Regions from separate parts of the Homo sapiens genome. Here region 1 is linked to region 2. Evidence: promoter capture Hi-C in 16 types of primary human blood cells and fetal thymus (Javierre and others, 2016). All regions are on one chromosome and are shown on one strand. Each heading gives the region's core, a stretch centred on a gene start or on the middle of the fragment in contact. The rest is flanking DNA. Distances are from core to core; before and after follow the strand shown. Region 1 overlaps TLCD5 (TLC domain containing 5). Region 2 holds the start of TBCEL (tubulin folding cofactor E like).

What was found. Contacts are between HindIII fragments. The CHiCAGO score rates a contact against its expected background, and 5 or more counts as called.
Region 1: a contact is called between a fragment that was not itself captured here and the fragment with the promoter of TBCEL in region 2, in 1 of 17 cell types (total CD4 T cells). The highest score is 5.2, in total CD4 T cells.

Annotation. Positions count from the first base shown.
Region 1 is chr11:120,332,006-120,335,799 of GRCh38, reverse strand. TLCD5 (TLC domain containing 5) reads right to left here. Exons shown (of 3, transcript NM_001198671.2): 3 at 2,114-3,794. Among named protein-coding and RNA genes, the nearest start is that of ARHGEF12, 2.5 kb to the left of the region's middle. The HindIII fragment of the contact is 153 bases long and covers 1,231-1,383 here.
Region 2 is chr11:121,022,061-121,026,016 of GRCh38, reverse strand. It overlaps TBCEL (tubulin folding cofactor E like), which reads right to left and starts at 1,915. Exons shown (of 9, transcript NM_001363644.2): 1 at 1,726-1,915. It overlaps TBCEL-TECTA (TBCEL-TECTA readthrough), which reads right to left and starts at 1,915. Exons shown (of 30, transcript NM_001378761.1): 1 at 1,726-1,915. RefSeq lists silencers at 1,662-1,931, 1,952-2,101. The HindIII fragment of the contact is 3,156 bases long and covers 338-3,493 here.

The DNA of each region.
Region 1 (3,794 bases), core at 58-2,557, 690 kb after region 2:
CCGGCTCCGGGGGGAGAGCGCTGCATGAGCCGGAGGCGCAGGGCTGCGGGAGAGCAGCTGGGGACTGCAGCCAGGGTTTCTCGGTATAAATATTACTTTTAGGCTGTTTCTGCCTTGGCAAAATGAAATGTGTTATTTGCCAAATTGATAAAGCATGGTGCTTTCCATGGCGACTTAACAAGCGTGTTGTGGAAAGAACTGGGAGAAGAAAATGAAGTATATTTATCCAGTAAATAGCATTACGGTTCTCTCTGAAGGATTCCCAAACGGTTTTTCGGTTTTTTCCCCTACTGGGTAGAGAGCTTTAGATACCCATCTAGTTTTATGATTGAATAATTCAGTATTTTGGCAATTTAGGTACCACATGTAATACAGTTCTTCAGTTCTGCCTGCAAACATCCAAAGTGGCTATTCCCTTTATCCAACTATTTTCAGACTTTTGAGCTTAAACCTATGTTGGTGACAAGGGATTTCAGCCATTTTGTGGAATCCAAGTAGCAAATCAAATCTAATAAACAGTGGATGTGGAGAGAGGAAACAATTACCTCTTAACAATGCTGTTGCAAAAAGTCATTCCGCAACAGTTCATGAAAGGATCATTATCCCCGAATAGAGGCATGAGCTCACGCTGACGTTAGTTAGAACGGGGGGGAAAAAAAGGAAAAGATAAACAGAGACCAGAGACGACTCTTTATTGCTCGATTTTTTAGGTTCAAGGCACAGCCAACTAATTTTGTAATGTTTATTTTTGGAAAGAATAGAAGCAGATTAGCCAAGGCACTTCCCTAATGATGAGACCAGGACACATTGCCACCTGCTGGTGTATTCTAGCATGACAATTCTACCCTGAAGACTCTTAAATTGAGTGTTTACATGCAACCGGAAGGAATCCCATTCATATATATATATATATATATATATATATATATATATATACACACACACACACATATACACATATACACACATATATACATATATACACATATATATACATATATATACACATATATATACACACATATATACATATATATACTGACCAAAATGCAAACCTTATCCCCAAACTTAATAAATCTTTCTTAAAAGTACTAAATATCTTATTTTCCCCTATCCTAATAATGTTACAGTGTAAGTATAAAATTAATTGAACCCAATGACTCATCAAATCATGCATTTTGGAGTTCCTCTCTTCCCTTAATACTTGAGGGAAGCCTCAATACTTAAGCTTCAGGAATAAAACAAACTGGGAAAGTTTCCTAATTCACCTTCTCTTCCTTGCATACAAAACCTCTTGGCAAGCTGCTTTCAAGATCTTTCCAAACTTAAACAGACCCACGGTTCTAGCTGTGAGCAAAGAAGGCATTTTGCTGTGGGAAAGCTTCAGAAGATGGTAAGCAAAAGATTGAATTAAGCCAGTGGTTATTCATTCCAGAACTAATTTTTTTAAATGATGAAAATCTCTATAGTCACCTACAAAGCATTAATGATTTAAAAAAAAAAAAAACTGAAAGCCTCTTTAAAGCTGCCGATAGCTCAACTGTTCTAAAGGCTGTAACTATAGGATGCCTTCAGAAAGTCAAGCCAGTCTGGGTAGAACACACTCCTCAGGGTCCGTAGTACTTTACTTAGAAAAATGACATTGATGACCCAATCCACTGGGAAAACCTTTGAGGAGGTTTTCCAATGGGGATGATTCTAAACCACATTCTCATCCTCTTGTCCATTCTTTCAACATGCTTACTAAGTATCTACTATGCATCCCAGACTGTTTTAGGCATTGGTAGTACAGTCCTCAAGACAGGGCCTCCAGCTGTCTTCAGATGATGTCTCTGATGTCAACTCACTTGACATCAACATTTTCAAGACAAGTGTCCAAACAGGTGGCAGAACAAGAAACACATTAAGGTTCTTCCTCTCTCTTTTGGCAAACTGTTTTGTGTATGTCAACTGTTACCCCCCAAAATAAAAAAAAATAGGGGGAATGATGGATAATGAACAGCAGATTAGAGATATTCACTAGTAAGTATGAATACAGGTCAACATTTCTACAGGTCAAAAGGCTTTTTTTAACTTCTTGGCAAAACCACCACATAAATATAAAGACAGACTCTGGGTTTATAAAAAGTTGTTTTACTTTTATAAAATTTAGTACAAATCTTATGGAAATATAAATCGTTCTTGAACAGTGTTCGTTATCATTACACAGTAATCCAGTGCAAATGAGTACTTCATTTTGTCCAAGTATACCACACATTAATTAGCCCTTCATTTACCTGTGGTTTCAGAACTTAGCATTGTCTTAACTGCTGAGTCATCTTCAGTTCACATTGTTCTCTCAGAAGTTTTTTCATAGTTATTAGTAACAACATCAAGAAAAGCTGAAATGAGGGATTCCCTTCCCCTTACCAATTATTCAGATTTCTCACCATTCAAAAAAACCTACATACAGTTCCATGAAAGTGTCCCCAAAACAACAAGATCTGCAGTCCCTTCACTTCTGAGGAGTAAGAGAGAAAAAGAATTGGTACCAGATTAAGCCTGTTCATTTGTCTGGTATGGAACAGGTTGCACTGTGCCAAAATTCAAGAGCCAGCTTTTTTTCTTTTTTTTAAGCTCATGTGCCAGGCCACTCTTTTCTACAAGCTTTTGCTAAAATCAGCATTCCCCAGCATCCTACTTTGACCGCAATTTTGTTGGAAAGAAGCTTACCAGCATTTTAGGGGCGCTCATCATAGAAAAAAAAAAAGTGGAGATTAAGAAAAAAAACAGGAAGTGGAGATGCTGTCAGATTATCTCAATGCCCAGCAAAACTCTTTAACCAAATGACATTCATTTTTAAAGACCCACTGTTAACATGCATTTAAAGTTACTGTTTCCCTAACAGTGATGACTTTATACCATTCCAACCACTCCCTCATACCTGGTTTCTGTGGCCAAGACCATTTTTCATTTTCAAGACCGCTCATGGCTGGGCACGGTGGCTCACACCTGTAATCCCAGCACTTTGGGAGGCCGAGGCGGGTGGGTCATGAAGTCAGGAGTTCAAGACCAGCCTGGCCAACATGGTGAAACCCCGTCTCTACTAAAAATACAAAAAGTAGCCAGGCATGGTGGCACACGCCTGTAGTCCCAGCTACTCGGGAGGCTGAGGCAGGAGAATCACTTGAACACAGAAGGCGGAGGTTGCAGTGAGTTGAGATCACACCACTGCACTCCAGCCTGGGCGACAGAGCAAGACTCTGTCTCAAACAACAACAACAACAACAACAACAACAAAAGACACCATTCATTACGTTAGATTACCAGTGGCCATGGAATGGACTGATGCTTCCTACTGACCAGCCTTGACTCCAGTAGCACCATATGCTTGCTCACCCACTGAGCTAATCAAACACCATTGACTTCAATAACATGGTAAAAATAAATAATCAATAAATACATAAATACTTCATATTTCCATAAAAGCCCTACATTAAAGACCTCCATTAATAAAATGCCACATAATGTATTTATGAAATATACTACAGGGTATTTCATTCATTCACAATAGGTTTAAACTCAGGCAAAGAAGAAACAAGTAACCTATCCAAAGTGAGTGAGTAGCTCTCCAAAGTGGCAAGTGAGTAGCAAAATTAGTTAAAAGAACCCAGGAATTCTGGATTCTTAACCCCTTGTTCTAAGCTTATATTCTTGCTTCTCTTGGAGACTGTCACACTAAGAATTATTATTTTTTTCCTTCCAAGACTGGCCTTGTTTTATTAGTTTGTTCATAGAGTGGTACCTTTTTAGTA
Region 2 (3,956 bases), core at 666-3,165:
TGGAACAGTAAAATAAAATTTCTTTAACTATGTTGTGATAAAGCAACTAAGTGGAACTAGGCCTCTCATATTTCTCAGACACAGCAAAGGATAAAGGAAACTAAAACACACACGCATACAAAAAATTTCATCAATCAAATGATCAGGCAACATCAAGATATTAAAGATCAAGATTATGGTCCTTCAGAAAACACAGGTCAAATATGCTACGTGGTATAAACATCTAAACCGAAGCAATCAATTGCACCTAGCTGCCCTCCTCCCTCTCCCCCGGCCAAAATAAAATAAAAAAAAAAAAAATCCATCTCCTTAGAATCATCCCTGCTCTTTAGAAGCTTACAGAATGAGGACACTGATTGACACCAAATAAATGTGCTTCAGAAACAGTGTTTTTCAAACTGCAAGTTGTGACCCACAAATCATCAATTTAGTAAATGTCAGCCAGCATTTTTTTTAATGCAAGAGGGTGGAATATAATAGAAATTAGCAGAACATATCACATATAATAAGGGTAAATACTGCTTTGTGAAAGTTTCCCTTCATACCTACGTATGTACTAGATCTGAATGTAAGACATACTTATTACTGTGGGGCATAATTTTTTTTTTTTTAAGTTTGAAAGCTACCACCCTAGAGATCTGGGTCTAATGCATCTCAGGACCCAAAGAGTGAATGTTTTCCTTAGTCCTCAGCACCTATTCATACTCTTTGCTCAAGATAGACTACTGGAAACGTAAGAGCTCCACAGCAGCATGACATGAACAAGGGACAAGCCCCAGCTCAGCCTGTATTTGGACTTGAAAGCATTACCAACTTCTCTCAACAGCCCTAGGCGTTGCCTACAAGCTCTTTGTAGCCTAGCAACCTTCACAGTAGAGCTCCTCCTTTCTCCACTGACTGTATACAGTTCAACACTTCCAACCAACTTTCCTCAACTACAACTTCTGGAATCACTGTGTCCCAAGAAAAGACTATTAAATCTCCTCTCTTCACCAATTCCCAGAATGTCTTCCTACTAGCGGACCTAGAACTCAACAGAGAAGCTCCACACAGATCCTTACTTCCCCCAAGATCCCACGACAAGGCACCCGCCTGTCAGTCCAACACCCTCGTTCTCAGTCTCCCAACCTTGGGGCAAATCTTTTCTCCCAAAAGCCCTTATTCAATTACCACATCCACATCCTTTTATCAGCCCCTGGTAAGAGCAGGCCTAATGTCCCAAGGGCCTAGACATGCCCGTCCTTCCCCCAGCAAACCTCCCTGGGGACATGTCCTCTTTTCTGGGATTCAGTAGTTCAGAGACAAGTTTCCTATTTCCCCAGCAGTCCCAGACACGTCTCCCTCTTCTAACAGCTGGGAGGCATCTACCCATCCCCCACGCTGGGGCAAGGTGAGACGCCTAGATTCTCCCAGGAACCCGGGCAGGCTCCCCAACACGCCCTCCTCCAACCCGGGACCAGTCCCCCAGCCCAGCCCAGCCCAGCCCAGCCCAAGACCCTCCCAGCTCCGCCATAGCCCAGGCCAGGCAGGCCCCATCCTCCCTCTAGCCCCAGGGCAGGTCTCCCATCCCCACAGCTGCTCGAGACAGGCCCCATGTGGCTTTCACCCTTCCCCGAGTGTCCTATCCCAGCACCCTGCAGGAGCGACCCTCCGCGCCTCGGCTCCAGAGGGGAACGCCTCGGGCCTCGAGAGCCCGGCAGAGCCAGCGGGCCCGGCTCCACTCACCCCTCAGCCCGGGAGGCGGGGGAGCTACTGCGGCGGCTCCTCTGGCTGCGCCTCTCCTCCCCCCTCCCGGCCACCGCTGTCGCCGCCGCTCAGCCTCGGGCCTGGTCCCGGCCAGCCCCGGCCCGGCGCCGCTTCACCTAGTCCCCCACTCTGGCCGCCGGAGCCCAGTGTCCTGCATTGACCCGGAAGCAGCTTTCCCGGCCCAACAACAACACGTGACCCCGCCGCACGTGTCACGTCCGCTGCGTGAATGGGAGGGGGCGCCGGAGGAGCGGGTCCTCCCCAACCGCGCTGGGGTTGCCATGGCGACGGGGATGGCTGCACTGGCTTAGGCTTTACCACAAACACCTCATCTGCTCTTTCTCGTGCCCACCCATTGAGTGGACAATCCCCAGGGGCAGAACAGGAGTACACATTGTCATATCAGAGGACAATAGGGGCTGCAGAAAAGAGCATTGGGCTGAACCTTTCCAGAAACACTTGGAATCTTGGCCTGGCTCTGTTACTGATTTGCTGTGTGACCTTGACCAAGTCTCTTCCTATCTCTGGCTTCAGTGTCCTCAACCATAAAATGAGGGAACTATACTAGATGAGCCCTCAGGGTATGGTGGCAGTCTGACCTTTCTTCTGTGCCCCCTTCACAAGTGGCATCCCGAGCTTCCAACACCAATGTAGTAACAGCAGCTTTCATTTATTGAGCACTTTCTAGGTACAGGCACTGCGCATGTGCTATTTTTAATTTTTACAGCCCTCCAAAGAGATGGTATTTATAGAATTGAAAACAAGTTCAGAGTGCTTAAGTGATCTGCCCAAGACCACCCAGTTAGTAAATGTGACCAGGGTGAGATTTGAATCCAGGTCAGGCTGGCACCAGGGTCCATGCACTTCACTTTATGCCACGCTATTGCTCCAACTCCATGCATAGTATTACTATATCTGACTGTTGAGCTGTGATTGCTTATGTACTCCTTCGTCCATTTCTTTTGCAGAAACATACATGGAATAGGCGTGGTGCTGGCTCAACCCCAAGTGAATTCAGCCTTGTATGGGAATGTCCCCTGAAGTGCTAGGAGATGAAGATGTCTTTGTGCATAAAGTGTATGTGCTTCTGTGTGGTGTGTGCCAGAAAAGACGTGGGGGATGTAATGTGCATGTGCATGTCTGCATTGGTTTCTAGAAGGGGGAAACAAAATTATTTAGGACAGACCCAATAGCACCTTACCATCATCAGTTCCTGGAGACTTATTTTTGTCATTCTGTTTTGTTTTCTCATATCCCATAGGTAGGGTTAGACAGGGTAGAGAGGAAAAAAAAAAGCCAGAAGGTCATGGGTAAAGAAACTGCTCTGAGTATAAAGGGGATGATTAGCCAAGAATTGTATCTTAGGTTGCTCAGGAAGGGGCTTTACTCCCCCTTCCACAGAGAACAGAGTGCCTTTCTTGGCAATTTAAGAATTACTGGCTTTCAGAGCACTGAGATCATTAGCATTGTGTCCGGAATTGGTGGGTTCTTGGTCTCACTGACTTCAAGAATGAAGCCGCGGACCCTCGCGGTGAATGCTACAGCTCTTAAGGTGGCGCGTCTGGAGTTTCTTCCTTCTGATGTTCGGATGCGTCCGGAGTTTCTTCCTTCTGGTGGGTTAGTGGTCTCGCTGGCTCCGGAGTGAAGCTGCAGACCTTCGCGGTGAGTGTTACAGCTCATAAAAGCAGTGTGGACCCAAAGAGTGAGCAGTACTAAGATTTATTGAAAAGAGCAAAAGAACAAAGCTTCCACAGTGTGGAAAGGGACCCGAGCGGGTTGCCACTGCTGGCTCGGGCAGCCTGCTTTTATTCTCTTATCTGGCCCCACCCGCATCCTGCTGATTGGTAGAGCCGAGTGGTCTGTTTTGACAGGGCGCTGATTGGTGCATTTACAATCCCTGAGCTAGACAAAAGGTTCTCCACCTCCCCACCAGATTAGCTAGATACAGAGTGTCCACACAAAGGTTCTCCAAGTCCCCACCAGAGTAGCTAGATACAGAGTGTCCATTGGTGCATTCACAAATCCTGAGCTAGACACAGGGTGCTGATTGGTGTGTTTGCAAACCTTGAGCTAGATACAGAGTGCCGATTGGTGTATTTACAATCCCTGAGCTAGACATAAAAGTTGTACACGTCCCTACCAGACTCAAGAGCCCAACTGGCTTCACCCAGTGGATCCCGCACCGGGGCTGCAGGTGGAGCTGCCTGCCA